Regions from separate parts of the Homo sapiens genome. Here regions 1, 2, 3, 4, 5 and 7 are each linked to region 6. Evidence: promoter capture Hi-C in 16 types of primary human blood cells and fetal thymus (Javierre and others, 2016). All regions are on one chromosome and are shown on one strand. The core of a region is centred on a gene start or on the middle of the fragment in contact, and the rest is flanking DNA. Distances in the headings are between cores, read along the strand shown.

Evidence for each region. Contacts are between HindIII fragments. The CHiCAGO score rates a contact against its expected background, and 5 or more counts as called.
Region 1: a fragment that was not itself captured here is called in contact with the fragment with the promoter of SELENOK in region 6 in 2 of 17 cell types (fetal thymus and naive CD8 T cells); the score reaches 7.3 in fetal thymus.
Region 2: a contact is called between a fragment that was not itself captured here and the fragment with the promoter of SELENOK in region 6, in 7 of 17 cell types (total CD8 T cells, naive CD8 T cells, total CD4 T cells and 4 more). The highest score is 8.4, in total CD8 T cells.
Region 3: a fragment that was not itself captured here is called in contact with the fragment with the promoter of SELENOK in region 6 in 1 of 17 cell types (fetal thymus); the score reaches 5.4 in fetal thymus.
Region 4: a fragment that was not itself captured here is called in contact with the fragment with the promoter of SELENOK in region 6 in 15 of 17 cell types (non-activated CD4 T cells, activated CD4 T cells, total B cells and 12 more); the score reaches 16.5 in non-activated CD4 T cells.
Region 5: a contact is called between the fragment with the promoter of TKT here and the fragment with the promoter of SELENOK in region 6, in 1 of 17 cell types (neutrophils). The highest score is 6.3, in neutrophils.
Region 7: a fragment that was not itself captured here is called in contact with the fragment with the promoter of SELENOK in region 6 in 1 of 17 cell types (fetal thymus); the score reaches 5.2 in fetal thymus.

What each region holds. Positions count from the first base shown.
Region 1 is chr3:53,167,791-53,170,960 of GRCh38, forward strand. The region is part of intron 2 of PRKCD (protein kinase C delta); the gene reads left to right. Among named protein-coding and RNA genes, the nearest start is that of PRKCD, 8.2 kb to the left of the region's middle. RefSeq lists enhancers at 1-604, 605-1,285 and a silencer at 2,482-2,531. The HindIII fragment of the contact is 164 bases long and covers 1,702-1,865 here.
Region 2 is chr3:53,309,501-53,313,154 of GRCh38, forward strand. DCP1A (decapping mRNA 1A) reads right to left here. Exons shown (of 10, transcript NM_018403.7): 5 at 2,741-2,879. Among named protein-coding and RNA genes, the nearest start is that of SNORD38C, 22 kb to the right of the region's middle. The HindIII fragment of the contact is 482 bases long and covers 1,632-2,113 here.
Region 3 is chr3:53,109,603-53,113,023 of GRCh38, forward strand. RFT1 (RFT1 glycolipid translocator homolog) reads right to left here. Exons shown (of 13, transcript NM_052859.4): 7 at 2,228-2,306. Among named protein-coding and RNA genes, the nearest start is that of RFT1, 19 kb to the right of the region's middle. The HindIII fragment of the contact is 7,624 bases long and covers 1-3,421 here.
Region 4 is chr3:53,338,508-53,341,991 of GRCh38, forward strand. The region is part of intron 3 of DCP1A (decapping mRNA 1A); the gene reads right to left. Among named protein-coding and RNA genes, the nearest start is that of SNORD38C, 7.1 kb to the left of the region's middle. The HindIII fragment of the contact is 5,444 bases long and covers 1-3,484 here.
Region 5 is chr3:53,254,569-53,257,795 of GRCh38, forward strand. TKT (transketolase) reads right to left here and starts at 1,454. Exons shown (of 14, transcript NM_001064.4): 1 at 1,268-1,454. The coding sequence starts at 1,374. RefSeq lists a silencer at 1,051-1,740. The HindIII fragment of the contact is 25,611 bases long and covers 1-3,227 here.
Region 6 is chr3:53,890,606-53,893,887 of GRCh38, forward strand. It overlaps SELENOK (selenoprotein K), which reads right to left and starts at 1,254. Exons shown (of 5, transcript NM_021237.5): 1 at 1,165-1,254. The coding sequence starts at 1,183. RefSeq lists enhancers at 442-1,342, 1,233-1,532. The HindIII fragment of the contact is 7,183 bases long and covers 554-3,282 here.
Region 7 is chr3:53,150,991-53,154,265 of GRCh38, forward strand. No RefSeq gene overlaps it. Among named protein-coding and RNA genes, the nearest start is that of PRKCD, 8.6 kb to the right of the region's middle. The HindIII fragment of the contact is 2,784 bases long and covers 474-3,257 here.

The sequences.
Region 1 (3,170 bases), core at 534-3,033, 720 kb before region 6:
CAGGTGGCTGTGGAGCCTGGCTGAGGAGCCAGGTCTCTGACTCCCTCATCCCCCTCAATTCTACCTCCAGTGGCAGTGCCCTACTTGTTCAGTAGGTTCCATGCCCTCCGAGGAGAGGAGCTCCTGTTGGAGCAGCTCCACCCACTCAGCAGTCCAGCCCCTGCCTGCTCTTCTCCCCCTCACTCCCTTTCAAAGGGAGAAAATAGATCTCGTGACAAATGGATGCAGGGAGGGGAAAGGCAGTCTGCAGCTGCCTGCTGCCCCCTCAGGGCTCCCCTTGGCCCTCTCCAGCTCTGGCCTCCTGCAGGACATTAGGCTGGGAGAATTGGCTGGGAACGAGGGGGTGGACGTAAGCCCTCCTGCCAGCCTGCTTACCCTTCAGACCCCTGGAGTCAGCCTGTGGGCTGGGGCAGGGAGTGGGCATCTGGGACTGATGGAAGCTAGAAGAGTAGGGGGAGCTAGAAAACCCCCTACACCCATGGCAGCTGGGGGCAGGGCCCAGCCTGTCCCAGGGACACGAAGAAGGTCAGCACAGTTAGGGTTGGGCTAAGCATTGGCCTTCACTGTGTGGGGCCCAGAGGCTGGGGATGAGGAGTGTTGAGGAGTGGTAAGGACAGTGATGCAAACAGCAGGGGCCTGAGGGCTGGAGAGCGAAAGGTGGATGGGCCTGGGCGGGAAGTGTGGTTGAGGGTATCCTGAAGGCTTAGGAGCAGGACTTCTGCAGGCATCAGACAGACCCTGGTTGAATCCTTGCTCAATATTTACTGGCTGTGCACACTTGAGCCAGGGACTGGACCGTTCCCCACTTGCCTCGTCTGTGAAATGGGCAGATCACGGGGTGTGGTGTCCTGTGAGACATGAACGATGGGAAGGAGCCACTGTGTGGGGTGGGGTGGAGCAGGAAGACGGAACAGCAAGCCCAGAGGCTCCTAAGCGGGAAGGAACTGGCTGCTTCGGGAACTGAAAGGGGTCAGCGTGGCTGGGGCACAGGAATGAGGGAAAGGCAGCGCCTGCCCGAGAGGTCAGGGAGGTAACGGTGATGGGGAGGGGGGTGGCGGGGGGCAGGCTGCATGGAGCAGGCTGAGGGGAGGAGTCTGGGCTTGTCAGAGGGGCAATGGGAGGCACTGGGGGCTTGGGCAGGGGGTGACAAAATCTGTCTGAAAAGCCCCGTCTGGTGGCTGGAACAGGGGGACTGTCGGGCCGGGGTAGAGGATGGAGAGCAGTCAGAAGACAGGTGCAGAGCCTGGGGATGGTGGTGGTGGGAGAAGAGGATTTGAGACTTGAGGACAGGCTGCAGCGGCAGACGGGATGGCCTTATTGTGTGGGGAGCAGGGGGAGCTGTCTGGCCTGAGCCACTGCCTGAGCTCGTGCACTCCTAGTGGATGAGGAGCGCTGGGAGGGGAACGGCGGGGGACTGGTGTGGGCAGGCTTGAGCTCTTCTGGAGTCATTCATGTGGTGAAGCCAGGGAGGCAGGTGGGGCCACAAGCCTGAAGTTCAGGAGGGTCTGGGCCCAAAGTAGAGACGGGAGCCTAAAGCCAGGATTGGGGAGGAGAGGGCTCAACAGGCCTTCTAAGGGGTGGGGGAGCATTTGAGAGGCCCACGAACAGGACTGGGATGGCTGTCCCTCAAAGGTCTCTGCCAAGGCACCCAGGAGGGCAGGCTTGTGGTGGCTGAGCCGCTGTTTTCACAACAGCTCCGGAAGCTTTGGATCATGTCTATGGCCGTGTTGGGTAAACAGGCAGAGCAGAGCAGGCAGTCGCCAAGGCCTGAGGCTAGATCAGATGTCTGCGTGGTGTAGGTTGTGGGCTGGGGTTGTTGGGGTGGGAGGAGGATCCCAGGGTCCTCCAGTGTCAGGGCTGGAGAAAGCTTAGAGGTCTCCATTGTTGAGACAGGGAGGCTGGAGCCCCGGGAGGGGCAGTAGCTGGCCAGCCTCTGCCAGTGGACTCATGCTGCCTGCTTCAGCCCAGTTCTGCCCAGAGCCTCAGGCCAGAACAGGGCACCCTGCGGCTGGGGGGCTTAACAGAGCCTCTTTTCCCACTTTCCAAGGAAGTCTGGAAGACACCAGAGCACTTGGGCCAAGATCGCGGAGCACCCAGGCAGCAGATCTGAGCTAGGCCTGTCTAGGTCCAAGCTCGCCGGTTCCTCTGTCCGCTGCCTGCTGTGGGATGGCGCACCATGCGGGATGGTCCTGCCTCTCTCCCAGCTTTCTCAATATCCCCAAAGTGGGGAAGCATCATGTGGATCCTGCCCAGATCCTGGGGATGACTGGCAAAAGGGTTAGGTGGCCATCTTGCCTTCTCCCAAACACAAAACGATTGTTTCCAATGGTAAACCATCTGGAAAATCGTGGGAACTCTGTGGGAGAAAGAAGGGCTAAGGAGTAGGGCTCTTGTACTGGGGGCTGATGGAGGAGCTGTTCCCATCTCCAAACACATACCCTCACCCCATTGGAGGCCAGATGGGCAGTTCTAGGACTAGAGCTGGAAGTTCTCTCCCCACTTCCCCCTGGGTCTGCCCCATTGGCTTTGTGGCTTTGGTTGAATTGCTCAACCTCTCTTTCGGTTTCTGCACAGTGAGCCTGGAGCTCAAGGAACTTGCTCCTGGGGTGCCCGGCTTGCTGCCCTACCAACATAGGTTCAAGCCCTCCCCTCCCCCTGCGCGCCAGGCCTGTGACTGCCACCTGTGACCTTCAACCTCCACCATAGCCTCAGGGCCCTGCAGGCAGGTGGGCGGGCGGGCGGAGGCCTGCCCAGTGATGTGCCTGACCAGCCCACTCCTTCCCTTACACACTTTAGACTTTGCTCTGGATCAAGAGGGACTTTCTTCGTCTCCCTGGGTGGAAAGGCCCAGCCTAGCCTGACACCAGCTGCCCTTCTGCCCCTCCTCCATTCCCCAGCCATTGTGCCTGGGGGCTGTGGTGGAAAAAGCTGCATTTGGACTTCATGGTGCCAGACTCTAGTCAGGGATGTGGGGTCCTTCCAGGACTGTATGTTTGTTTCTGTGTCTGCCTGGAGCATCTCTGTGCCAGTGTGTACATCACAGCTTGTGGCACTCCACGTGCGTGTGGAGCCTATGTGGTCGGGTGTGGTCTGTGTGGGCCCGGGTATCTGTTGAGATGTGAGAGCCGGTGAGTGCATGTGTGTTTCTGTGTGTGTGTGTGTGTGTGTGT
Region 2 (3,654 bases), core at 623-3,122, 580 kb before region 6:
TATAATTCCAGCACTTTGGGAGGCCAAGGCGGGAGGACAGCTTGAGCCCAGGAGCTTGTCAAGATCAGCCAGGGCAACATAGTGAGACTCTATCTCTACAAAAAATAAACAAAATTATCCAAGCATGGTGATGCATGGCCTATAGTCGTGGCTAATTGGGAGGCTAAGATGGGAGAATGTCTTGAGCCTGGGAGGTAGAGGCTGCAGTGGGCCAAGATTGTGCCCCTGCACTCCAGCCTGGGCAACAGAGAGACCCTGTCTGAAAAAAGAAAAGAGTCTCATTATTACAAGTGCTCATTCAAAAGTCTGAAATTTCGTTCATTATATCATACTCAGCAGATAGCGGAGACTCAGAATCAGGATTAAATCCCAACACTGAGGCCTAGCTTGCACCCCTGCCCTTGATTGCCAATCTTCTGAGTCTTCACCTAAAGATAAACAAAGGGGCCGTCTGAAAAAATGTGGCAGCTGAAGGGAGCCCATCCAAACACCAAGACCCATGAATTCATGGGTCACTGCTTATACCAGCTCCATCTGATGAGATGATAGACAAATGCAGATAAGAGAACAAAACTCTAATTCAAAGAAGCTCCACCTATTGCAGACAGTTTTCAAAATCAGAAAGAACACATGATAAAGTAAATATCAAAGATTTAACCAAATCCCAAAGGGTTTCATTTTAATCTACCCATAGACGATATTTTATTCCATAGTGTGAAAGAAGTTTATTTAAAACAGAAACTATCATGCTATCTATATTCCTTTTGTAATATTGATATAATTCAAAATAATGTCAGATGTTTAGATTGCCCACCTGACCCTAGAGTTCCTTTAAAGTTTTGTGTTCAAAGCTAATGTCTTATTTCCTACTTTCTCGTTGTGGCTACTTAACCTCTCAGCCTGAGTAAGCCAGGCCACTTACTGGAGTATCTGCTTTAGTGCGCAGCACCTACAGTTTCTGTCCCGTGTGGTACCTTGATACAGTTATTACTCAGGATGAGTGACAGAGCCCTGGACTTACTAGGTACCTATGAGAACACTGAAAGGGCTCTACAAACAGAACAAAGTATGTACGTAGAAAATCCGCTTGTCATCAAGGGTAGAAGAGGGGAATGTAAGGTAACTTCTAAATCAGAAAGCCATTCTTGAAGTTAGTTCTCATTTGGTTTCCTAAGAATCGATTAATTTATTAGAGAGGTGACTGCTCCTCCAAATTTAACTTCCATAGATCCATTCATTCCTCCTAATTCTCTGTGAGACATTGAAGAATTTGGTACAAACTTGAAACTTCTCATGGGCTCTCATGTACATTTCTCCACCCTGGAGGTGGGACTTCCTTTGTTATCAGAATGTAGAAGGTCTATGTAGTTTATGGTGAACATGCCTATTTTTAGTCAGAAGAAACTATCTTTCAGAACACTTTTTTCAAACTTTTTCCTGAACTCCAAATTCTTGAGTTGTTAAAGGGCAGTATGCAAAAAATGGTCCTGCAGTCAAGTCAATCTGGGAATTGGTGTTATTGTTTTACTTATTGCAGGACCTCTCAGTTTTGAGCTCTGTAAAGTCCCAAGAGGATGGGAGGAGGAAGAGTCATGCTAACAACAGTACCTTAACTCGTTTTGCCAATTTGAAGCTTTTTTCAGGATCACTGATTAATAACTTAGTAGCTGGTATTATAGCAGAACTGTATGGGAAACAGGGTCTTTTGGACAGTGCTTTTTCACATTTTGTTCCTTGAAGTTCTGGTGAGGTGAAATAGGCATGAAAGGAAAGCACTTAATTCAATATTTAATGAAGAGTAAGGTGACAGTATAATTCTGCTAAAACAAAGTTCAGCAGTAGAGAGCTTGTCTCACTCCAGTGAAGTGTGGGGGCTTTGAGGTGCCAAGTAAAATTCCAGGAGAGTCATAACCATGAAATGCCCACTGCTTGCACATAGTAGATGGTTCATAAGCAGGTATTGAATAAATTAACGAAAGTACCACAATTGCCATTTTATTCAACTTTTGGGAGAAAATTTTATCAGCTAATTTATAAACTAAAATGCACAACAGAAGAGAAAGAAAACAGTGAATTTCAGAAAAGCCTCTCATTTGGGTAAAATTCCAAATGAAGCTTAATGAAGGTTGTGCATCTACCACCAATTACAGACCATGAGTGTATTTTTTAGTATTATGTGGTACAAACTATCAGAATACTTTTCAAAGCCTAAACAAATTCCTAGGACCACTGAGGATCCTAACAGAAACTGCAGTGGTGAAGAAGAGGCACGAAGCTTTACCAGAACTAGCTGCTGCGAGCTAACTTCTGCACTCCAAGACCATCTTCTCCCATAGTAATCTTATAGGAATAGAAAAAAGCATTGTAAATTTTCCTGCCAAAAACAAGTAATCTGGGGTAAGCAAGTTCTTTCCTTATGTTTTAGGTTTAAAATTGTAAGACACATCTGTTTTAAAAAAAAAAAAAGAGAGACACAGGGTCTCACTGTTGCCCAGACTAGAGTGGAGTGGCACAATCATAGCCCACTGCAGCCTCCAACTCCTGGAGTCAAGTGATCTTCCTTCCTCAGCCTGCCAAGTAGCTGGGACTGATTACAGGAGTGTGCTAACACGCTCTCTTTTTGAACTTATATTTCTGCCGTCCCTGGAGGCCAGCTTCCCTAGTAAAATAGTCTCCTGCAGACCTCCTCCTCCCGTTTTGGTCTTCCCTGGTCAGCACCCAAGTACCCAGAGAGCCTCACCCTCTCATACTCATCCTTGGCTCTGCTCAGCATCTCCAGGATGTCGATGGGCCTGTGGTCGCTGCAGCCATTGGCCTGGCTGGGACTCTGTTTGTCCCGAGCAGCTTGCTGGGATCGCCGTGTCTCCTCTTCTACCACACTAGAGGAGAAGAACAAGGTTTTAGAAAGGCCTCTTGAAACAAAATCTGACCCAAGATTTCTTTTGGTGTTCATCTTCCAAGGATACACTAAGAGTGTCACATGATGACATTCTTCTTTTTTTTTTTTTTTTTTGAGATGGAGTCTCGCACTGTCGCCCAGGCTGGAGTGCAGTGGTGTGATCTCGGCTCACTGCAAACTCCACCTCCTGGGTTCACACCATCCTCCTGCCTCAGCCTCCGGAGTAGCTGGGACTACAGCGCCCACCACCACACCCGGCTAATGTTTTGTATTTTTAGTAGAGATGGGGTTTCACCGTGTTAGCCAGGATGGTCTCAATCTCCTGACCTCGTGATCTGCCCTAGGCCTCCCCAAGTGCTGGGATTACAGGCCTGAGCCACCGCGCCCAGCCGATTACATTATTCTTGCAATATATAACACAGAACTTCAGTTACCTCATTTCAGAAATAAATGACTTACCATTTCACCGTCTCATTAACAGTGCCAATATTTACCCTTCAGAAGGATAAAAATACAGAATTCCTTCCTAGAGTTGGCAGAGATGCATTACAAACTCCACTAAGGTTTCTCCCTTTTTCCCTTGAAGTATTTCAAAATCAGTCAAACTAATTGCTAAAGTAAATATGAAAACTGACAGTTCCACCAAGACACAGGAAGGCTGCATAGTTGAACAAATCCTCTGTGGAAAGTTTGGATTGACACTGGGCTAGCAAGGACAAAGTCAGTTCTTGAAAATAGAGGTCTTGGTGAATCCT
Region 3 (3,421 bases), core at 531-3,030, 780 kb before region 6:
AGTTCAAGACCAGTCTGGGCAACATCACAAGACCCTGTCTCTACAAAAAAATTAAAATATTGGCTAGGCGTAATGGTAGGTGCCTTGCCTGTAGTCCCAGCTACTTGGGAGGCTGAGGTGGGAGGATCACTTGAGCCCGAGAGGTCAAGGCTGCAGTGAGCTGTGTTTGCACCACTGCATTCCAGCCTGGGTGACAGAGTGAGACCCTATCTACAAAAACAAAAAACAAAAAACAAAAAAAACCACCAGGGATTTCAACTTTTTTAGAGCTGTAGTTTTAAAAATATATCGAATCTGAGGATCTCAGTCAGGCAACTTCCTTATTTCACAGCCAAGGAGATGGAGGCCCTGAGAAGTTCCTAATGGCACTCTGCCAGTCAGGGAGTCAGGCTAGGGGGATCCAACCATGGAGCAGGCTCCTGGCACCACATTCAGGTCGAGCTCTGGAGGCTTTAGTTTGCAGTAAACTTAAACCAGCTGCTGCAAAGACATGTCTAGAGACATGTGTTGTCTGCAATCCAGAAAACCAATTTAGGGCCATCACTTGGACTGGATCCATTCCTTCAAACTTATTAAAACTGCTCTTAAAACCTTGGAAGGAAAAAAATGCATATGAGCAACCGTCCTTTCCAAAACTCACTCCACCGATTTTCCTGTTCTTACAACAATGTGAACTATCATCATACACATTTCACAATAGTTACGTTGTTGCTTTTCTTACCCCATTCACAAATACATGCTGAATAGCCCTCCTGTACCAGGCCACAGGGAGGCAGTAGTGAACGGCACAGTCTCTGCTCCCCAGGAGCTAAGTGCTCAGGCCCTTCACTCAGCTCTTCTGAGGCTTCTGACCCTCCCTTCCCCGAGAAGGCCTCGGAACGGTTTCATTTTTGTAATAGCAAAGTTATAAGGTTAGGCTGGAAACGTGTGTACTCTCAAAGATCAGAGAGCCCTCAGACACTGCCTGGTCCTATCCCTTATTCACAGATGGGGAAAGCGAGGCATAGGGGGAGTTGCTTTCTTTTGGAGACATAATAAACAAAAAATACAGATGGGGGGGAAATAAAATAACAAGATAATAACAGTTGTATTAGAATGCTAGTATTATTTTTTCTATTTTCTTATTTTTTTCTAACGGGACTATATTTTATAATTAAAAGAAAATTTTTGAAAAGATTAAAAATACATTCAGTAATAGGTATATGGATATGAAATATATATGAAGAGAGAAACTACTACCTTCAGCAACTTACAGCTGTCTTAAATCTCACTTTTTAAATTAAAGCTGGGTATAAGTAAACCAACACATATACATACAAAAACTAAATGTGCTTCCAGCCCCTTGCTGGCCCTCCACATTGAGAGCTCTGTCGTAGGTAAACTGAAAGGACCAAAGTCTGACCAAACTCTCATACAAGTGCATTTTGTTGTTTAAGAAAATAAATCCAGGATTAGGGAATTGACATAATTTTTAAAAAGAAGAAGAAGAAAATAAAATGATATAAATAAATGATATAAAATGATAAAAAGGCTGGGTGTGGTGGCTCGCGCCTGTAATCCCAGCACTCTGAGGCAGGCGGATCACAAGGTCAGGAGATCGAGACCATCCTGGCTAACACGGTGAAACTCCGTCTCTACTAAAAATACAAAAAAATTAGCTGGGTGTGGTGGTGGGCACCTATAGTCCCAGCTACTCAGGAGGCTGAGGCAGGAGAATTGCATGAATCTGGGAGGTGGAGCTTGCAGTGAGCCAAGATAGCACCACTGTACTCCAGCTTGGGCGACGGAGCAAGACTCCATCTCAAAAAAAAAAAAATGATAAAAATACTTTTATGTAACTGATATAATACTTTCATAATAAATTCATAAAAATCATATAACATGGGGTTTTGGAGTTAGACCTGGATCCCAGTTAAGCTGTTCCTTGTTACTATAAAACCCTAAAGAAATTCTGCAACCTCACTGACCCTTAGTTTCCTCATCCATGATGAAGGGGAACAATATGTTTCTTATAAGGCTGTGGAGAGATTTAAATTAGACCACTAAGTAAAGCATCAAACTAAACAGACGTTGGTTTCTCTCTCCGTATTAAGCCCCCTCCTCCCATTTCTGAAATTCTTCTGCCCCAGAGGCTCTGGACAGGTGGTCTGGACCCAGGTAATTGGCAGTCCTATGAAATCCCCTTCTACTATGGTCTCCCGACGATTCAGAGTGACCGTCTACTTACCTTCTGTCAAAATCTGTTTCAAGAAAGACTGTTTGAAAAAACTCCAAGTCAGTTTAGCCTCTTTCCAGTTTATAAACGCCTAGAAGAGAAAACAAAACAAAACAAAAACATCACAGGCGTTGCAAGTCTAAGAATGCAATGCTACATGAGAGGCAAATGCAATCTGGTCTCTAAATCCCAACTTGGATAGTCTCCACTGAATCCTCATCCAATGCTAAGCACACAGAAGGCATCTCACAAACACTGGAGAAGAATTTACATTACTAAACACAAAGCCAAAGTCTGTAAGGGCCTGCCCAAGACTCATATACTGAGACCCCTAAAGAATTGCTGCTGTCCCTTGGGGGCCCACACAGTACACTGACCACAGCTAACACGTACAGCTCACAGTTTGTTCTTTCCTTAAAAACTGTCTAAAGCATGCCAGGCTGCAGAAGAAATTCTGCTCCATATACTGCACATTGTAATGCTATGTTCAGCCATCCAGGGCCCTTTTACACAAAGTATAGGAGCTGCCCTTCTGCATTACAAAAGAAATTTAGCCTTCGCAGGTCAGGTAAACCACTCAGAATGGGTATGACAGAGGAACGGAGAAAATAAAATTTCTGATATGACTCTTCTAAAACTCCAGGCCAGGCGAGGTTGCTCACGCCTATAATCACAACACTTTGGGAAGCTGAGGTGGGTGGATCACTTGAGGCCAGGAGTTTGAGACCAGCTTGGCCAACATGGCAAAAACCCCATCTCTACTAAAAATACAAAAATTAGCTGGGCGTGGTGCTACGTGTCTGTAATCTCAACTACTTGGGAGGCTGTGGCACAAGAATCGTTTGAACCTGGAAGGCAGAGGTTGCAGTGAGCCAAGATGGCACCACTGAACTTCAGCCTGGATGACAGAGCGAAAATCTGGCTCAAAAATAAATAAATAAATAAAACTCCCAGCGGCACCAAATGGCCCATTTCCTAAGGACAAGGAAACACTTAGGTAGGGTAGAGGTCAACCTATTAAGAGACAGGTGGCCTCAAAGCCAGGGAGCTGAGCACAAAATGGAAGAGCAAGGCAGCCAGGGAGCTCGGTATCCTCTGACTCCTGTTTTTCTACCTCCCACAGTTCTCTCTGGGGCCCCCTCCTCTATCTTGTAGGCACCCTGGGATCCCAGAATATTTAGACTAGGTGTTTGGTTTTTTGTTTTG
Region 4 (3,484 bases), core at 688-3,187, 550 kb before region 6:
CTTTAAGATTTTATCTTTTTCTTGAGGGGTGGGGTGGGTGTAGATGGGCATGTTTTATAAAGAAAAACTCTTGGCTGGGCGCGGTGGCTCACTCCTGTAATCCCAGCACTTTGGAAGGCCAAGGCAGGTGGATCACGAGGTCAGGAGATCGAGACCATCCTAGCTAACACGGTGAAACCCCGTCTCTACTAAAAATAGAAAAAATTAGCCGGGCGTGGTGGTGGGCGCCTGTAGTCCCAGCTACTCGGGAGGCTGAGGCAGGAGAATGGCGTGAACCTGGGAGGCAGAGCTTGCAGTGAGCCAAGATCATGCCACTGCACTCCAGCCTGGGTGACAGAGCAAGGCTCCGTCTCAAAAAAAAAAAAAAAGAAAAACTCTTAAAAATAAATAAAACAAATAACTTAGAACTGAAAAAAAGTTATGGTTCACTGTTCTAGTACATTAACTCCAAAAATTAATTTGAATGAAAGAAGTTGGATATGAAGGTGTCACTTGAGTTAAATGGGTCAGGTGTCTTGATGGTATTTCCCACAAGAGAATGGCAGAAGTGCAGCTATAGAATCAGGTATAATTACCTGTATGCATAATCAGATACTAACTTTTTATTTAAAGAACAAATCCCTAAACAACTTAATAGCTCGCTGACCTGACAAGACTATTTTCCACTTTTAAGACTATGTAGACAAAACACACACTCGAGAGGGCTTAACACTCACAAAATCATTTTCTGTTGTCTTATCACTTCTCCCCAATACAGCTATTCCTTTAAATACTTTCCCTAATGAAATGACCTGGTTAAGTGAGTTTTCTGTTCAACTAAGAAAACTTTTGTTTCAATCAGTTGAAAATTTTCTAAAGTAAAATGCATTAATGCACTTTCTCCCCAAGAATGTTCTAGTTAACATAATAAATACTCCTGATGATTTTAGGTCTCACTATAACAATTTAACCTATGATACTACAGTGGAGTTAAAGTTATAAAATATTGACATTTTAATGCCGACCCCAGGTTATTCTCTGGATATCTGCTTGATTTTCAGAAAATAAAACCTAGTATTAGCTTGTTTTCTTATAATTTGCCTTCATTTCTTCCACACACGAACTATAAAAATATTTCCAGACAACTGAAGCTCTAATTAGTTAGCTTCTGGTTACTCATGGTTCAATTACATTTGTGTTATGTCACACTTTCAATTTCACAGGACTTTTGCCTTGTGAAAAAAATATAATACAATTCATCTCAGGTTTATGCTAAATGGTAACTGGGTCCGGATAACTTTCCCTACTGACTACTTTAATAATCAAACCACTTAGGAGTGATGGCTAGATTAAGTTTCCAGGCAGTAAAGAACAGAATTAAGCCTATTTCACTTAAAAAAAAATTGGATCCATATTCATTTGCAGAATTTCTCCCACCCTCTTTTCATTTTTTGAGTCAGGGTCTCGCTTGTTGCCCAGGCTGGAGTGCAGTGGCGCAATCATGGCTCACTGCAGCCTGGACAGCCTCCTGGGTTCAAGCGACTTTCCCACCTCAGCCTCCTGGGTAGCTGGGACTACAAGTGTGTGACACCACACCTGGCTAATTTTTCTATTTTTTTGTGGAGTGGGGGTTTTGACATGTTGCCCAGGCTGGTCTCAAACTCCTGGGCTCAAGCAATCTGCTTGCCTCGGTCTCCCAAAATCGTGGGATTGCAGGTGTTGAGCCACTTTGCCCAGCCGAATTTTCCCTTTAATGGAATATTCAGTACAAAGAAAAGAGCAATCTGAAATAATTACATTGTTAACATTAGTTTAAATAAATCCATCTGAACTTACAGCTATTACAAAGCATGTCTAATATGTCCACAGAATTTAAAATCTGAGAGGTAATTACCTGGACAAATAGTTTACTGAGAAGTCAAAAGATAGAACCTATTTCACTTATACTTCAAAGTGTGCTACGGAAAAGAACTTGGGGGTTTCTAGCTTTAAAATAGGCCTTGTTACTTCTCATTCAGGGAATTAAGAGGTGTATAATTTTTAGTAACTTTTTCTATTTTATACTGAAGACATCCCCCAAGACCAATTACCCCCCCGCCAAGTGAAATTCAAACACATTAACTTTTACTTTTTAAGTTAGAAGCAACATTTCTCCAACTATATCCTTAGATGCCAATTAGAGCACAATCATTGTTACCATAACCAGTTTTCATATCCCTATAGTCAATGTCCAACAAACTGTCCTCAAACACCCATACCTTCAATATCCATACTAATACACTGGAATCAAGTATATTTTTTAGTACTGTAGTTTCTTGGAAGGGCCACTCTAGCTTTGCTGACTACATCCAATCGTTATTAGAGATTGTAAAAATGCCTGAAAGAACCCTGGACTAAAAAGCAGAAGAATAGTCATAATCCTAACTCTCCAACAGGGTAATAGTTATGCATCTCTGAGTCTCAGTTGACTTAACTGCCTGCTTACACCACATAGGTAACTGTATCGTTAACATTAAAGCACCACAGCTCTTGGCTCAGTGCTGGTAACCAGTAGACACTCAATTAAATAAACAGATAGAAAAACCTTACTTAGAAACATATTCAGACAAAATAAAGTAGAAAAAGTAATAAATATCTTAAAAAAAAAAACCCATCACCACTATTCTGGGCAAAAATAATATTTTCTGGCCGGGCGTGGTGGCTCATGCCTATAATCCCAGCATTTTGGGAGGCCGAGGCAGGCAGATCACAAGGTCAGGAGATCAAGACCATCCTGGCTAACACGGTGAAACCCCTTCTCTACCAAAAATACAAAAAAATTAGCCAGGCGTGGTGGCGGGTGCCTGTAGTCCCAGCTACTTGGGAGGCCGAGCCAGGAGAAGGGCATGAATCCGGGAGGCAGAGCTTGCATGAGCCTAGATCACACCACTGCACTCCAGCCTGGGCAACAGAGCAAGACTCCGTCTCAAAAAAAAGAAAATAATAATAGTAATAATAATACTTTCTTTGTGGAAAGAATTATCTGTATCTGTTCCCATCCTGTGTGTCCCAAACTAAGTTCTGTTGCTTAGGGACATGGGCAGCTGATAGTCCACAGCTGCAAAAAAACAAAGGCATAAACCTTATTTTAATAAACCGACAACAGAAATGTAGTGCTATTAAATGAAATAGTAAACTAAATTATATACAAAAGAATGTTTCCAGTTTCAGAGCCCAGTTTATTTATTTATTTTTTTGAGACACAGTCTCATTCTGTTGCCCAGGCTGGAGTACAGTGGCGCGATCTCAGCTCACTGCAACCTCCACCTCCCAGGTTCAAGTGATTACAGGCGCCTGCCACCAAGCCCGGCTAATTTTTTTCTGTATTTTTAGTAGATACGGGGTTTCACCATGTTGGCCTGGCTGGTCTCGAACTCCTGACCTCAAGTGATCTGCCCTCCTCGGCCTCCCAAAGTGCTGGGATTACAGGCATGAGCCACCACCTCTGGCCTCAGAGCCCAGTTTA
Region 5 (3,227 bases), core at 204-2,703, 640 kb before region 6:
TGAAACAGAGCTTGTTTGGGAAGGTCCCGAGAAATCATCCATCACGCAGCCCTCACAACCCTGTCATGAGCCCGGAGCACTGCTGGCACTGTGGCCTCAAAGCAGCCTCCAAGTAGAGCACTGGAGTCCTTGAAACCACCCAGCGTGGTTAAGTGCCATTACTGTCCCCGCTTTACAGAGCGGGAAGCAGGCTCTGAAGTAATTCACTGACTGACCCCCTCACCCACCCCACTGGACACCTCCAGCTGCATGCACGGTGGCCCTCATTAATTATCCCTGTCTCCGCTACAGAGGAGGCTCCTTGGGTGTCCACCTTCTGGGCCAAAAGGGCTGGCCAGGGAAGGATCTTGGGGCCTAGGCACGCCAGCTCCTGCCTGGGAGATACAGCACCTGGTGGCTGGCCCTGCCCCAGGACGTCACTCCCGGCGCTAGGGCCCTGGAACTCCGTCCTTCCGGCGCTCAGCCTTCTCAGTCTCCTTGCCCTCCGCCTCCTCCCGCCCCAGGTCAAATCTTAGACCTCCTTTTCACAATGGATCCCAGGGTTCTGCACCCACGTGCCACCGCCCTCCTCCCCTCTTCCCCCAATCAGCCCCGCCGCTGCCTGGCGTCTCAGCAGCCCCCTGCTCCAAACTCGGACCCAACCCAGGGGTGGCAGGAGACAGGGGTAGGGGAGCGTAGTCTGAGGTGGGGAGAAGGCCGGGCCCCCGAGTCTCCTGCAAGAGGAATTAAAAACAGGGTCTCTAGAGTCGGACTGCTGGGGCTCAAATCAGATCTCCCTGTGTGTAACTTTGGGTAGCTGACTAACTCGGAGCCTCCGTTTCCCCATCTGGAAGGGGGAACACTCCCGGCGGCGCCCACACAGCCAGGTGGTGGAGAGGGTTAAGAGGGCCGCGTTCTGTAGAACAGCAGTAATGGTGGCCTTCCCGGCATCACCCTAGAGGGTACTTGGCGAGTCGCGAGCCCATCCCCCGCGCCACCATGCAGCTGCGCGGCCGGCGATCCGCGTGGGGAAGAGCCGGCCTGAGGCGCACGGAGGACCAGAGGCCCACGCGGCCGAGCCCGGGCGTAGGGCGAGTGTGCGGCGCAGCGGAAGCCGCCTGCAGCCCGGGGCCCTGCGAGGCGCGCGTCTCCGCCCTCCGACGGCGCCCGGGCCACCTTCCTCGTCTAGGCATCTCGCAGCGCGACCCAGAGCCCGCGGCGACTCTGGCCGCCGCAGACGCCCCCCGCCCCGCCCGAGCCGCGTCCCCGGCCGGCGCCGCGCACTCACCCAGAGCCCGCCGCAGTGGTGGCCTGGATGGAGCTGATACGTAGGCGGTTGGCCGTGTCCTTCAAGGCCTGCAGCTTCTGCTGGTCAGGCTTGTGGTAGCTCTCCATGGTGCGGCAGGCGGGGACCGGGCGCACACGCGGACACACAGAGATAGCGGCTGCTCCCGCGGCGACAGGCGGCTGCCGAGGCCGGGCGCGGGGCGGGGGCGCGTTAAGTCGCCGGGCGGGGCGGGGCGGGGATGGGAGAGGCGGGGCAGGGGGAGGAGGCGGGGCTCGGATCACCCCAGGCCTTCAGCCCCGCCCCGCCTGGGGCCGCCTCCTGCCCGCTCCCCTCCCCTAGGCGCTGGGCCGCTGCGGACTGCGAGGTTAGCAGTTAACCACACACACCAATAATAATAACATAACGAACAACTCAGGATTCGAGTCTGGGCTCCTGACTCGAAAGCCTCTCAGTCTCCCTCCTCCACACAGTCCTCCGTGGACTTGTCACGGCGAATCCCATTTTAGAGATGGACAAACTGAGGCTTGGCAAGGGCAATCAAGGTCACAAGGCTGGTGGGTGCCAGGCTTGGCCCCAGCCGACCAACCCCAGGCCCAAGAGACTGCAGGACTTAATTTTGAGACTGAGTTTCGCTGTTGTTGCCCAGGCTGGAGTGCAATGGCATGATCTTGGCTCACCACAACCTCCGCCTCCTGAGTTCAAGCAATTCTCCTGCCTCAGCCTCCCTAGTAGCTGGGATTACAAGCATGCGCCACCACACCTAGCTAATTTTGTATTTTTAGTAGAGACGGGGTTTCTCCATGTTGGTCAGGCTGATCTTGAACTCCCGACCTCAGGTGATCCGCCTCGGCCTCCCAAAGTGCTGGGGTTACAGGGGTGAGCCACCGCACCAGGCCCTATTTCTTTTTTCTAATAATTAAAAAACTTGTTTTTTCTTTGAGACGGGGTCACCCATGGTCACCCAGGCTGGAATGCAGTGGAGTGATTACAGCTGCCTGAAGCCTCAGCCTCCTGGGCTCAAGTGATCCTTCTGCCTCAGCCTCAAAAGTAGCTGGGACCATAGGTACACACTACCACGCCCGGCTAATTTTTGTATGTTTTGTAGAGATGGGGTTTTGCCACTTTACCCAGGCAGGTCTTGAACTCCTAGGCTCAAGCCATCTGCCCTCCTCTGCCTCCCAAAGTGCCGGATTATAGGTATGAGCCACCATGCCCAGCCACTCAGGGCTTTAGAGCCCTGCACAGGGGATGGGGATTATTGAAAATGAGAATAGGATAGTGGTAGCCATGACAATGCCAGGTGATGATAACTGAGAAATTACTAGGGGAAGATCCTTTACAAATTATTAGGGCCTAGAAACACTACTGACTTTTAGGGAGATTATTGGGTTTGCTTCCAGGTCTGTAGGGACAGGGGCACCCACCACTACTGTTATCAGACCCCATGGTTCCCAGAGGTATGAAGCTCCCCAGAGTGGGATTAGGGAGGGGACTTTCATCACAGACACTGTTTCATTCAATCTGCCCACCACACTTGGCCAGTGAGGTACATACTGCCTACAATGCCTATTTTACAGAGGAAGAAGCTCCATTTGACAGAGGAAAGATAAAGGCAAGACCCTCAAACGGATGGCTGGGCAGGGAGCTAAAACCCTGAGAGATCCAAGAGGCACCAGTGGCCGCCCTGTGTCCTCTGTGTCCTCCCTGCATTGCCCATACTCAGAGAGCTCTGGCTCATGAGGCGATTGACTGAATTTGAGTGAGTCCCCCAGCTCGCCTCCAGGTGCTCCTCTGCTGGCCTGACCCCCAGATGCCCAATCAGACCCTAAGTATGGCATCCCATAGCACCTGGCTCCTGCTGGCCCAGCCCGCAGAGGCTGGCCCTATGGTGTCTGGCTGGTGAGGGCTATGGGCTAGGATTGGAGGGGGGCCCCACAGTGTGCCACCCTCAGATGCCTGG
Region 6 (3,282 bases), core at 4-2,503:
AGCTTCCAGCCTTAAGCTTATATCACAAAGGCTATAAAACAGGCTATAAAACAGACTAAAGTCTGAAAGCGCCCAAAACTAAGATGAAATTTTGATGCTTTTCTGTAGTGTCCATCAATCTACTTGTTTCAAAGATTTTTAAGTGGGAGATGAGAAGGGGAGATTTTTAAAAGTCAAGAAATGCAAAAGTGCAGTCAGCCAGAAGGCTCCTCACTGACTACCTTACTCGTCTCTGGAGAAAAACAGATGACTCAAATAGAACCAAGACCTAGTTCCAATGATCCACAACTCCTTGTTAAGACTGTACCAAAGAATTTCACCTGAGTCAAACAGGTGGGCAGGCAGCTCTAGCACTGATCTGACACAGTCATGTCCTTCCTTTCCGGTCATCTTCTTTGTGGGTTCGCAGAATTAAGTCTCTCGGATTCTCCATTCCGGTAATAATTAACTTGCTCCTAGGGGAAGATAGTACTTCTTCCCATGCCCCTTGAAATTCGAGCAAAAAATTCCATGTTTGACTAGCTACCCTTTCCTGGGGAAAAAGCCTATGCAAAGCTTTCATCTAATTATCATCCTAGGTCGGCTCGGTCTTTTTACACGTTGTAGACAGAGGCAGCATAACAGATAACAAGGACGCTGACGTCAGCCTACCTGTGATCGAATCCCGACTCAGCCATTAAGTTACCTCTGTGACTTAAATAGCCCAGGCAAGCTATTTAATCTATCTGAGCCTCAGAGTTTCCACCCGTAAAACAGGATTGAATGTGACGATAAGCAAATAACTGAAACACTGTCCAGGGCACAAGCGCTACGTGTACAGCGTCGGCATCATTGTCCTTACTAGTTTTAAGGATACCGACACCCGAGAGAGGAAAGACCACCCTCGCAAATCCACAATCAAGCGCTTGCTGCACGAAGGCGGGGTTGCAGGGCTCCCAGTACTCAACGTGAGGCCGGCGGGACCTCGGCCCCCGACTGCCGGCTCAGAGACCATCGGCTGACGCGCCGCAAGCCGAGGCGACTTCGGTCCAGCTCCGCCCGGCCGCGGGGCGCTAAGCCCGGGGAAGCCGCACCGGGCTCAAGACTCAGCGAGCGACGATGAAAGGAACCTGGAGTCCGATCTTACAAGTCACCGGTCGAAGCCACAGCCCGCTCTCAACTTACCGTTCGAGATGTAAACCATCTTGTCCCACTTCCCCGCTTCGGAGCCACCGGGCGCCTGGCCCCTGTCGGTTTCTGTATCTCCCTCTGCTCCCCGCCCTTCGAGCGTCACAGGCCGCGATTAGACAAAATGCTGACGAGGACGAAGGTGGGCAGAGCCCATTGGCTGCTGAAAGAGACGCGCCCCCGACGGGCGTTTTTGCATCGTCACATCTGCGACTTCTGGTTAGGCGGAGGCGGCCGAGCTGACAACCGGATATGACGTTAAGGACTGCCCTGTAGTGCCCGCGGTTGCCAGTCCTCTATCCGACTTGATCGTGCAGAGTTGGTTCGCACCGCCCAGTGAGGGGAAGCTGTTTTCTCGTCGATTGATAGGCTCCGGGTCTGGGTAGGAGAGGCTGCCCTGTATGAGGTAGCTTGAAGGGCCGCTGACAGGAGGAAACGCTTCCGAATTTTCCAGACGTGTTGACGTTTGAGGGTGCTGACTACACGTTAAGGAACTTTATTGTCACGCCTTTGGGAATATACTGCCAGGCTCTTCCTAGATATATTCATTCTCTTTAAAATGAGCATGTCTACCTGGGTTCACCAGAAACTAAGTTTTTCTTAGCCTTTTGTGAGGCAACTGAAAAATAAATTGAACTGTAGGCCCTTTCTCTGCTTGTTTCTTATTGATGGCGACTGCTTATGACCACTTTGGTGACAGACGAATTAGAAGACATGTCTTGGACATTCAGTAAATGTGGACCACATACCATGGATATTTACTCTGCTACAGCCAGTGGGCTGCCTCTGTTCCTTGAACGTGGCCATTTCATTCCCTTCTCAAGGCCTCTGCACTTAGCTATTCTTTCAGCGTGGAGACCTAATGGCTGCTTCCTTTGACTTCCCGCCCCCAGTTCTCAAGCCATGTGTCATCTCTTTGGAAAGATTCCTAATCACCTTCCAGAAAATGAAAATTACATGCTGAAAATCTATTTTGAGTTTAACAACTTTGGTTAAGATTTTATGTTCTAATACTTAGAACTGACAAAGATCTAATTTTATGTTGATTTTGGAGAGAGCATTTTCCCCAGAAAAGTTCATAATAGGACAAGACAACATCCTTCACCTCATTTGGGATTTGTGCAGCACAATCATAAAGGATCATTTCTGCAAAAATATTAGGGCAGGGCCGTTAATTTTCCCAAGGGCCTTTCTTAATCTAGACCATGCCACCATCATCTCTCACCTGCTCTACGCTAGTTTCCTTCTAAATGAAATCTCAGGTTCAGTCTTTTACCATCCTTAGGCAGTTTTACAAACTGTAGCAAGATCGATCTTAAAACGGAGATCATCTCGTTCCCTTGCCTAAAACCTTTTGGACACTAAAATTTAGTGACTTCCTATTGCTCTTAAAATCCAGTTCCTTGTCATGGCCTGCAGGCCCAAGGTGACTTGTCCTCTTGATTGCTCCTCTCACTGTACTTCCAGCCACATCTCCCCACCCAGATTATGCTCTGGCAACATTGTTGTTTTAGTTTATGAACACCCCCACCCAGATTATGCTCTGGCAACATTGTTGTTTTAGTTTGTGAACACCCCGGGTTTTACTGATACCTCCAGGACTCTGCCCATACTTGTCCCTCTACCTGGAACCCTCTTCCTCGGACTCCTTGCACATCCAGCTCATTTTATCCTTTAGCCCTCTGCTTAGTTGTCACCACTTCTGGGTGCCCTTCCCTGGCCACTCATCTCCGTGTTTATTTTCTTCATAGTAATTCACATTGTGAAACTGTCTGATAATTGATTTGTCTCTTGTCTTCAAGAAAATATAAGACGTAAGAGGTCAGGAATCCTGTCTGCCTTATTGTCTTTTATATCTTCAAGGTCTGTCATAGTTCTTGGCAAGTAGTAGGTGCTCAGATATTTGTTGGTTGGTTGAATGAGATTTTTTTAGACAATTTTTTGACAATTGCTTAAAATCTCTCCAATTGCCAAAAGAGGAAAGAAACTAACATTGGGATCTCCTGAGTATCGGACATTGTGAGGCTATCTCTTCCTTTCCATTCCTTTATCTAGATCATTTTTGCCTGAGATTTAATGCAGTGATTTCCTAATGAGCTACCTCTAGTTTCTCCG
Region 7 (3,275 bases), core at 616-3,115, 740 kb before region 6:
CTGGAGTGCTTTCTCTGCCTCCTCTGCCTTCCCACCACTGCCCACTAAGGAATTCCTTCTTGCTCTTCCCGGCCCAGCACCAAGGGCACCTTTTTGGTGAAGCCTTCCCTGCTTTGTTGGCCCTCGCACAGAAATTTTTTTTTTTTTTTTTTTTTGAGGCAGAGTCTCGCTCTGTCACCCAGGCCGGAGTGCAGTGGCATGATATTGGCTCACTGCAACCTCTGCCTCCCGGGCTCTAGTGATTCTCGTGCCTCAGCCTCCTGAGTAGCTGAGATTACAGGCATGCGGCACCACGCCCGGCTAATTTTTTGTATTTAGTAGAGGTGGGGTTTCACCATGTTGGCCAGGCTGATCTCAGACTCCTGACCTCAAATGATCTGCCCTCCTCGGCCTCCCAAAGTGCTGGGAATACAGGCATGAGCCACCATATGAAGCCATGCCTTAGATTTTATACAGAGGGCTTGAGGCATGCAAGCTTTCCTGTCCTACCCTAAAATACACCCTGAGGTTAACAAATTAAATCATAATAACAAAGCTGGCAATAATCCACTGAGCACTCGCTCTGATCCAGGCACGGTGCTAGGCCCTCCTCTTGTCTACTCTCTATGAGCCTCTGTTAGCAGCGAGTGGAAGCCAGAGAGGGAAGGTGATGTGCCCAGGGTCACATAGCTGAGTGGCTGAGCTCCCTGCCAGAAGACCAGCCCCCAGTAGCCCCAGGACACTCCTGACCTTGGCCACCACTTTCAACACCTCCGTAAGAATAGGCCCTTTCACTCATGCATTCTGACTCCCTCAGCGGACTCAGGCTCAGGGGCTTGGGCTGCCCCTCAGGCATGAGGAGAGGAAGAGGGGACCCTGGAGGGCAGTCACACAGGCATGCAACAGCAGGGAGGCTCCAGCCCAGAACCTCTGTGTCAGAGGAAAACAGGTACTTGTGGGACTCCCTCCCTTCCTCTGGTGGGCCATGGGCCGAAGTCCAGGTCACCATCTGGTCCCCTGCAAGCAGATCTTGCAGAATGTCCACCCCGGCTCCAGTTTCCTGAGACGTTGTCCTGGCCACGTCCCTGTCAGAACTGACTACCAGGCAGCAGAGCTGGCCCCAGGGCAGCATCCGTCTTCGGCTAGGGAAGGGGCTGAGACCCTCCGCAGGACACGTGAACACACCAGGTCTTGGACTCCTGCCTCAGCGCCCTGCAACAACCTGTGTGGCCTTGGGCCGGGCTTCACCTGAGCCTCAGTTTCCTCGTCTCTGGGATGGACGGGAATCCCTGCTTTACCCCAGGTGTAGGCAATTAGACAGCAATGAGGTGGCTGCCCACTCCTGTCCATCCTCCCATCAGACCCTGTGCTCAACCGGCAAGGAAGCCAGGCATCTTCTTCCTCCTCTCCCTTGCTCCATCAGTCAGTCCATGTGACCACTGACCGTTGGGTCTTTCATCATCCTCCCATCGTGTTTCAGAGAAGCTGAGCCACCTGCCTGAGGTCACACAGTTAGAGCAGGCTGAGCCAGGAGGAGAAGCCTGCAGCCTGGGCACACCTGCCTCTGAAGCCACCAGGTTTTCGTCCTGACCTTCGTCCAGCCTCGCACAGACGTCGGGCCTGGCCCTGCTACCTGGCCTTGGGCTTGCCTCCCTGAGCCTTGACTTCCTCAACTGTAAACTGGGGTTGCTCTTACTCTGCAGGTTGTCCTGATAGGCGGTTTTTAATCACTCAGCCTCTCCCTGGTAGCAGAGGTAAATTAGTATCTACTGTCCCATCACCTTTTCTGGGTAGCTGCAGCCACAGAGACCGAGAGGGGCAAGGCCCTGCCAGGATCCTGCAGCCAGTCAGAGGCATGGCTGAGCAGGCCTCTACCTGAGGGTCCAGCGTCTCCGCAGGCTCACTGGCATTGTGTGTGTCCACCGAGGGCCCGTGGAAGCCTCAGTGTTGCCACAACTCACTACCTGGACACAAACTTGCTCACTAATGTTTGCCCAGGCCTACCCTAGCCTGGTAGGCACTTCAGCGCTTAGCCTTCTTCCAGAAGTTTCACCCTACACCCACCTGGGCCCCCTGGCAGACAAGATCTGGGAAGCTGGCCTGCCCCTCAGCTTCTAGGGTTCCCTCAAAGCTGGGGATAGCCAGGGGACCTGGATCAGTGGTGGTGTGGGGTTGAGGCAATCCAGGGGAGGCACATTTGGGGGACAGTCAGTGATACCAGCTCCCACGTGAAGGACAGGGATGTAGGAGGCATCCTGATGTCCCCGGTCATCCCCTGCCCTCACTTCCTCCTGGTAACCCTATTCTGTCTTCCTCAGTGAACTGGGAGATGAAATGGAGCATCAGACTGTGGCTTGGCAGCCACACATAGATGGGTGGGGAGGCAGAGGGAGGAAGGAGGTCTTGGATTGTGTTGTGGGATGAAAAACACACATTGCCCTCATGTCGGAGCACTACCTAACCTGGCTTAAGAGGTTAGCCAGGGAGGCTTCCTGGAGGAGGAGGTAACTAAGCTAGAATCTACCAGAAGACTGAGAGGAGTTAGCTAGGCATGGTGTGCTAAGCAGAGGGAAGGGCATGGGCAAAGGCCCAGGGGTGAGAAGTTGAAGGATGTTGTCTGGTAGGAACTGGAAGACGTTCCTATTCCTGGAGTTCTGGGCTGGCAGGGGGACAGGCGGCAGAGGCTAAGTCACACTGGGCCAGGTGGCCACAGTAGAAGTTTGACCTTTATTCTGAGAGATCCATGGTCAGCCTCAGGGCTGGGGAGTGAGTAGTCCTTGACACTTTAGGAGGATTATGTGGCTGCTGTGAAGGAAAAGAATTGCTGGAGGTGGGGAGGTGGTATTCTGAACAGAGGAGACCATCACAGATGGCCAGACAAGGGACACTGGAAGCCCAGGCCAAGGTGATGGCATGGGGACAAACAAATGAATTCAGAAGTCAGGATGGGGAGTGTGAGGCACCAAGGGGAGAGAGATCTGTGCAAGATTCTGCGGTGAGCTGGGGCCTGGCTGGGGTGCAGAACATCGTGTGTGCAGAAGGTTGATAGTGGGTCCAGGGCAGAAGGCTGCCCAGCGCAGGCCCACTGGGATCCTGCCCAGGGGCTGGGAATCCTTTCCCCTCCCACCCTCTCTCAGAGAAAGGCTTTGGCCCGAGGGAAGAAAGTTCATTTTTTCTTCCTTTGCACCATGGCTATGCTGTGCACACCCACAGAGCACACCCACGGAGGCTGTGGTTCCGCTGCTGCCTGCCTTCTCCAGAGTCTGGGGAGTGGGGGAAGCTTCCTTGGGGCCTTC